Linked DNA regions of Homo sapiens: region 1 is linked to region 2. Evidence: promoter capture Hi-C in human tissues and cell types (Jung and others, 2019). All regions are on one chromosome and are shown on one strand. The core of a region is centred on a gene start or on the middle of the fragment in contact, and the rest is flanking DNA. Distances in the headings are between cores, read along the strand shown.

Region 1 (3,733 bases), core at 676-3,175, 180 kb before region 2:
GGTGGCGGCGTCGGCGGCCGCACGGCCACAGGCGGCGGAAGCGCGCGCGGAAGTGGCGCGAGGCGAGCGCGTAGACGAGCGGGTTGAGGCAGGAGTTGGCGTAGGCCAGGCAGTGTGAGGCCAGGCGGCAGGCGTAGGTGGCCGGGCTGAAGGCGAAGCGGCCGTACCAGAAGCACAGGATGAGCGCGTGGTGCGGACCCCAGCAGAGCGCGTAGAGCGCGGCCACCGCCAGCATGGCGCGCCCCGCGCGGCCCGTCGCCCTCCGCCGCGCCTCGGCCGCCGCCGCGCCCGCGGGACCCACGGCGGCCCACAGGAAGCGCAGCGTGCGCCCGTAGGCCAGGCTCACCACAGCCACGGGCAGCAGGTAGCCGGCAGCGAAGGTGGCCACGTCCAGGGCGCGGCGGCGCGCGTCCTCCCAGGCGGGCACGCAGAGCTCCAGCGCGCCGTAGCGCACGGTGCCGTAGTAGCTGAGGTAGGGCGCCGAGAAGAGCGCCGCCAGCAGCCACACCAGCCCCACTGCGGCGCGGGCGTTACGCGGCGTGCGCAGGGCGCGCGAGCGCAGCGGGTGCCGCACGGCCAGGTACCTGCGGAGGGCGCCTGGTCAGCGGGGCGGGCAGGTGCCCTCCCGCAGGGGCCCGCGCCACGTCCCGCGCCCGGGCCCTGCGGCCCAGTGCGCCTCCTGTGAACCGTGGGGGACGTGGCGGGGATTAAGGGTGTGAACGCGCAAGGTGCTTAGGCCCTTGCACCTAGCAAGGGCCCGATCCCGGTGACTTGTTATTTCTAGGATTATTTTATGGATGCGTCAGATGAGGTCCAGAGAGAAGTGACTTGCCCAGGGTCATCAGCTGGAGTGAGCCTGGATTTGACCCCAAGTTTCAAGCTGTGGAAGCAGATGTGTGCACAGCTTGGCCAGGTGTGGGCAGTTAGAAAATAGCTGGGCTGGGCGCGGTGGCTCACGCCTGTAATCCCAGCACTTGGGAGGCCGAGGCGGGCGGATCACTTGAGGTCAGGGGTTCGAGACCAGCCTGTCCAACATGGCAAAACCCCGTTTCTACTAAAAATACAAAAAATTAGCCAGGTGTGGTGGCCTGTAATCCCAGCTACTCAGGAGGCTGTGGCAGGAGAATCGCTGGAACCCAGGAGGCAGAGGTTGCAGTGAGCCAAGATCCAAAAAAAAAAAACAACAAAACAAAACAAAACAAAAAAACTGATGAACGCATTCGTGAGCTTCTTTTGCGATTCATTTCGCGCTTACAGAGCACTTACTATGTGCCAGACCCTGTGCTGCCACTTGAGACTCAGAGGCGTCCTCTGGAAGTTCACAGTGGAGGAGGGGAAGGGCAGGACAGTCCCCTCAAGCACGCCCTGCAGGTGCCCAGAGGCTGCTTGCGAGGGGTCAGGGAGCTTTTGTTTCCTCCCACCCACCTCCCTTTCTGGTCCCCCACTCTCTCCTTCCTAAGGCCAGTGAGGATCTGTTCAGGACTCCTCCCCCAACCCCCGCCCCCACAGCCCTGCCCAGCCAGGCCCCAGGCACAGCGCACCTGTCCACGGAGACAGCAGCCAGCGTAAAGCTGCTGGCGTACATGGTGAGGTAGATGAGCAGGTGCACGGCCTTGCAGACGAGGGCCCCAAAGAGCCAGGCATCCAGCGTGTAGATGGTGGCCTGGAAGGGCACGCAGCACAGGATGAAGCAGAGGTCAGCCACCGCCAGGTTGAGGATGAACAGGTCCGTGGTGCTGCCAGGCTCCTGCCAGGCACTCGGGCCAGGCTGCAGGAGCACTGCCAGCACCAGCCCATTGCCCACTGTGCCCAGCAGGAAGATTAGGGCAAAGACCACAGGCACTGCCACGGCCCCCACACTCCCTGGGCTGTCCAGTGAAATGTTCTGGGCATCAGCCATCTCCCCATCAGACGGGCACCTGGGAAGAGAAGCTGGAATCCTCAGGCAAGAGCCCCCAGTTCTGGTTGCTTGACCCCGGGATCTAACTCCCCCGACCTGGGTCTGGCCAGGTGTTCTGGGCTGGAAGCTCGTGGGAGATGGAGGAGGGGAGAGCAGAGCCAAAGTCATCGCTGAGTGTCACTGTGTGAGCAAGCTCGTGGTGTTCAAGGGGTGAGAGTTCCTCAGTTTCCTAAGGAACACCCCTGGAGTCCTGCCTGGAGGACTACCTAGGTATTTGAGGGACACTTTCAACCCACGAGGCTGGGGAAGGCACAAGCGAAGTAGGATGAAGATATGGCGATGGGGGGAGGGGCCAAACCCAGAAACTGGTATGTTTTCCTTCTCAATGGGGATCTGAAGCTCAGGGGAGACCCTGGGACATGGGTTTAGGGCTTTCTCTGGCTACAAGCTGTAGCCTTAGCAAAACACGGGTAACATCCCTGAGTCATTGGAGGGTCCAGTATAGTGAGATCATCACAATGGCAAAACTGGGAAGACCGTGTAGGTCACTGCTTCCTCTCTGCACATAGGGAAATTGAGGCCCAGAGAGGGGACATGGGAGGATAATATCACACTCGAAATGGCAGCTCTGGGGCTGTTGCCACCCTGGTATCCTGCCTCTTAAGCTAGAGTGCTCATCTGAGAGCTTGTAACAGGTGGTGCCTCTGACAACTTGTGTGTGTGCACACCGCACCCATGCTCACCCCCATCCCACTCTACAGCCCATGTCTCCTACTGCCTGTGGATCTCCTTGCAGGCTTGAGACCACTGGGGTGGTGGGACAAAGTAGGGGAAAGGGGGGTCAGGCAGGGAGTAGGGAAGAAAGGCAATGTCTGCCCCCATCCCAGCACCCAGCATGCAGTAGGTCCCCAAAGCCCAGGATGGGCAACACCCACCTCCGCCTTGGGCAGTGGGCTTGATCCTGGGTGGAATGGCCGGGCTGGGTGGGCCTCCTGATTCAGCGGCTGCCCCTTGGTGCCTCCCTGCAGGTACTGGTCTGCCTTCTACTTCTCCCCCTTTGCCTTTAAGGCCCCTCCTCTCCTCTGCCCCCTCTGCTGAGCCGGAGTTGGGCACTCCCTCTGGAGTAGCCACTGGCCACTTCCTCCTCAGTCCCTGATTTCCCCCAGGTGGCAGGCTCTTCTGCCTGGCTCTTCTCTGCCTCTCTGCGTTGCTGCTGCCTTTTCCTCTCTCTGCAGCCAGTAACCCATTGATCTCGCTCTCTGTGATTTGCTTTGTAGTTAACCCCTCTGTGCCCAGGGCCCAGCCAGTCTCTGGCACTCCCACCTCCTGTGGCCCAGCCTGATGTGACTCCATCCCCTATCCCTGCACCTTCTTGCTCCAATCCATGTTTAGAAAAGGTTCCTAGGCCGGGCATGGTGGCTCACGTCTGTAATCCCAGCACTTTGGGAGGCTGAGGCAGGCAGATCACTTGAGGCCAGGAATTCGAGACCAGCCTGGCCAATGTGGCGAAACCTTGTCTCTACTAAAAATACAAAAATTAACTGAGCGTCGTGGCGGGCGCCTGTAATCCCAGCTACTCTGGAGGCTGAGGCAGGAGAATCGCTTGAACCTGGGAGGTGGAGGTTGCAATGAGCCGAGATGACGCCACTGCACTCCAGCCCAGGTGATGGAGTGAGACATTGTCTCAAAAAAAAAAAAAAAAAAAAAAAGAAGAGGCTGGGCGCGGTGGCTCATGCCTGTAATCCCAGCACTTTGGGAGGCCAAGACAGGTGGATCATGAGGTCAGGAGTTCAAGACCAGCCTGGCCAAGATGATGAAACCCCATGTCTACTA
Region 2 (3,639 bases), core at 1,140-3,639:
GTTACGGGGAATGCCTGCTCTGGGATCAGAGACCAGGGTTCAAACCTCAGTTCTGCCACTTACTAGCTATGTGACCTTGGACAAGTGACTTTATCTCTGAGCCTCCAGTTCCTCATGTGTAAAGCAATGCCTGCCCCTAGGGTTGTGCCAGTGTTCCATGAGACAGTGCACTCATATGTTAGTAACAAGCTGGCGGTTATCAGCCAATAAACGCTGCCTCTTGATTAATAAACGTGTATCCCTCAAAAGCCAGCTCAATTGCTACCTCCTTCAGGAAACCCTCTGAGGCCGCCCCATTGACAGCCTGCTCTTGCGCACTGATTGGACAGAGAAGTTCAGGTGCTGTCAGAAGCCTGGCCTTGGCTTATGGGAACTGGTGCACAGGGAAGTGGGGTAAAGGTGATGGGGAAGGTATAGGGCCTCTTGAGTGCAGTGCCAGAGGGGCCTTGGAACAGAGCAGTCTCCATGCCCTTGGTGCCAGACACTCAGACTGGCAAGGAAACCCCAGCCCCGACCTTGCTTCCCCATTGGATGGAAGTCTCCTGCTCAGGCCCCTCCTTCCCGGGACCCCCCACTCACCACCCGCTTGTCCATGTCTGCCCCGCTCTGGCCCTGCAGACAGGCCTGCAGCCGCTTGTGGATGTTGTGGGCTGCCCGCTTGGCCGGCTCCAGCCGCTGTTCTACCTGGGAAGGAGGTATGGAGGTTAAGGATCAAGAGAGGCTGTCTCCCCCTGAGCAGGAAACTTTCTCCTGTCCCCTGGGGACCCCATGGCCAACAGCTTGAGGAATGACTCAACCCAGGCCCCTACCTGGCGTCCCCGCCCCGGCCCTCTGCTCCGAGACAGCCTGCACAGGCCTGCCTTCCCACCTGCCCGGCCCAGGCACGTACCTGCAGCAGGTCCTCACCCAGGAACTCAGCGGTCTCCGGGGTGCTGCGGGGAGTGGTGGGGGGGGGGGGGAGAGTGCTTCTGCTGAGCCTGCCTGGGTTAGAACGCCCCCTACTTCCCTTCCCCGCAGCAGGGCACCTGGACCCCAGTGCTTCCACTGTCCCTCCCAGCTGAGGCCTGCCCTGGGTGGCCCAGTTGCTTCATCCCAGTCGGAGCACATTCCATGGGGGTGGGAATAGGATACATGGGTTTTTCCTCCTCCACCCAGGGCTGTGTCCTGAGAGAGGGCGGACAGATGAAACTAAAGGGGAGGCTGAGAGACCCACCCGGGGCCCAGCTTTGGGACACAGAAGCCTCTTTTCTGCCCACTCCCAAATCCTCAGCCCACCCCGGGATGAGGAGTATTAGCTGGCCCCAAGAACGGGAAGTGCAGGAGCTCAGACTCCTAGGCACAGTCACACAGCACTCTGGACTACAGCTGTGGGCAGGGGTGCACAGGCCCTTGGCCCCCACCTGGGGACACATGGGGGATGCCAAGGCCCACTGCAAGGTGGTCTGACTGTCCAGGCTATGTAGGCATCTGTGCCAGTGTGAGACTAGAACCAGGTCTCTGGACACCCAGTCCCCTCCCTGGACCCAGAGAATGGGGAACTCCTGAGGCTGGGGGAAGAGGAGCAGAGAAGACAGGCTCTGAGAGGCTCCCCAAACTTCCGGCCTCCGTGCCACCGGCTCAGAGGCTGGGGGTGGGAGCTGGGAGACCTGGGGATATTTCCACCTGAGTCCAGGAAAAGCAGAAACGAGACAGAAGCAGGAGGCCCCTGGGCTGGGGGGAGGGGGAGGGGGAGGGACGCTGCAGGCCAGGGGCAGGCCCCTCCTCCCACCAGGCCAGGACCCATCTCCTCCCCTCGCCCCAGGTCTGTGGCCCTAATCGACCCTCCTCCCTCCCCGGCCCAGCAAGCAGAGGTGGTGAACTGTCCCATTGTCCAGAGGGGACAAGTGAGGTCAGGAGGACCATCCACTTAGAGACTCGTGGAGGCAGAGAAGTCCCAGCGTCCTAGGGCAGAGAGCATTCTCCCGCCTGAAGCCCCCTCCAATCCGGTAAGGGGGGGCATCCCTTCCCCCAAAGGCCACCCTTGCTCCTCCAGCTCTGCCCGAGAGACGGGGGCGGCGTTCAGAGAGGAGGAAGAGAGAGCAGGAGTCTGGCCGCTCAGAGGGTGGCTGCCCAGCTGTCCCCAGCCTCCCCCACCCCCGTCTCCCCCGACCCTTTTACGACCCCTCAAGTCCTGCCGGGGTAAGAGTGGGGCTGGAAGCGGGTGACACTCACCGTCCCAAGCTGCCCGTCTGGGCCAGCTGCCGCATGCGGTGCAGCTGCCTCTTCATCATCTTGGGGGCGAGCTGGGGGCTGCGGGGTCACGGCGGGGGTCGCGGGCCCGGGGAGCCCCCGGTCCAGCCTGCCTCTCCTGCGGCGCGGCTCTTGCCCCGGATGGGTGGGCGGCGCTCTCGCTTCCTGGGCCGCCGCGCGGCTCTTGCTGGCGGCCGGCTCTCTCCTCCCCCGCTCACGACTCCGCCCCCGGCCCCCAGGTCACTCCTCTCTCCAAGTTGGTTTCCTCGCTCTTCCCCGGCTTCCGGGCCCCCGGGCGACCCCCGGCCGGGCCCCCGCTGCTGTGTGTCCGCCGGCCGCGGCCGTCCACAGGTTGTGCCCGGCTCCTCCTCCCCGCAGCGCCCCGCCCAGCCCCGGTGGCGGGAAGCAGGTAAGCCCATTCCTGCCCCTGCGCCCGCAACCCGCCCCAGGCGGGGTGCCTGCCCCACCCGCAGCCTGCAGACCCGAAGTATAAATAACCTTTGCATCCCTCGCAAAGAGGAAAGGGTACCAAGCGAAAGAGGGGTAGGCCTTTCTGACCTGTCCTGGCCTCTCTGGGCCTGCCGCGGATACTGCCTTGCACTCTCTTCCGCAGAGGACCTCTGGCCCCCTGGAACTAAACCCCCCACCACTGGATGACTGGCTGGGAGCTTTGGCTTCCTGGGGCCACGGGCTGCTGTGTGGCCGTGGACAAGCCCCTGGAACTCCGGACTCGCTGTTTCTAATGGTCTGATGGGCCAGCTGTCCTGGGCCTGCCCATTCTGCAGAGTGGACAAGACACCCCTGCCAGCTCCCTTTAAGGGAGGTGCGTGCCACCCCTCAGCCACCAGGAACCCTCCCAGAGCGGTTCGCGACACCCTGTTCTCCACATCTCCTGGCAGTTTGCTCCATCTGTGAAGCCCGTCTCCTCTCATTCCTCCTGGCAAACAGCCTCAGTCCCCCTTCCTTCTTGTAGGGCAATGATGTAGGTGCTGCTCTGACTGCCCCCAAACTCAGTAGTTCTCCTCTTTGGCCCTCCACTCAACACAGAGTTAGGCATACAGTAAGTGCTCCATAACTGCTGGTTTTACAAGATGTGAGCGCCTTTAGGAAACAGTAGGCTCTCCTTACCCTGCACCCCTGTGGCATCAGGAGCCGCAGGCGTGGGGAAGAGGGGAGGGTGTGCCCCAGAGTCCTGCCACACCCTCTGCACTTTGCTTTGTTAGTTTCAGTTTAGTTTGAGACTATTTGAGCCACTACTGTGTGCCGGTGCAGACTGTGTGCCGGTGCAGACTGGGCGCCTCTCAGAGGCAGGACCTTGGCCCCACACATCTCCATACTCCCAGCACCTAGCCCAGGGCCTGGCACACTCACTGGCTGCTTCTCTCCTCCCTAATGAGGCAGGACTCATTG

Evidence for each region. The method cuts DNA at HindIII sites, captures the fragments that hold promoters and counts their contacts. A contact is called where the count stands out against the background at its distance.
Region 1: a contact is called between the fragment with the promoter of GALR3 here and the fragment with the promoter of SH3BP1 in region 2, in 4 of the 25 tissues and cell types used here (aorta, heart left ventricle, lymphoblastoid cells and 1 more).

What each region holds. Positions count from the first base shown.
Region 1 is chr22:37,821,574-37,825,306 of GRCh38, reverse strand. It overlaps GALR3 (galanin receptor 3), which reads right to left and starts at 1,925. Exons shown (of 2, transcript NM_003614.2): 1 at 1,542-1,925; 2 at 1-584. The coding sequence starts at 1,900. The HindIII fragment of the contact is 28,947 bases long and covers 1-3,733 here.
Region 2 is chr22:37,638,419-37,642,057 of GRCh38, reverse strand. SH3BP1 (SH3 domain binding protein 1) reads right to left here and starts at 2,389. Exons shown (of 18, transcript NM_018957.6): 1 at 2,212-2,389; 2 at 890-932; 3 at 580-684. The coding sequence starts at 2,270. PDXP-DT (PDXP divergent transcript) reads left to right here. Exons shown (of 6, transcript NR_109952.1): 6 at 1-226. RefSeq lists silencers at 2,172-2,611, 2,642-2,791, 3,422-3,639. The HindIII fragment of the contact is 22,988 bases long and covers 1-3,639 here.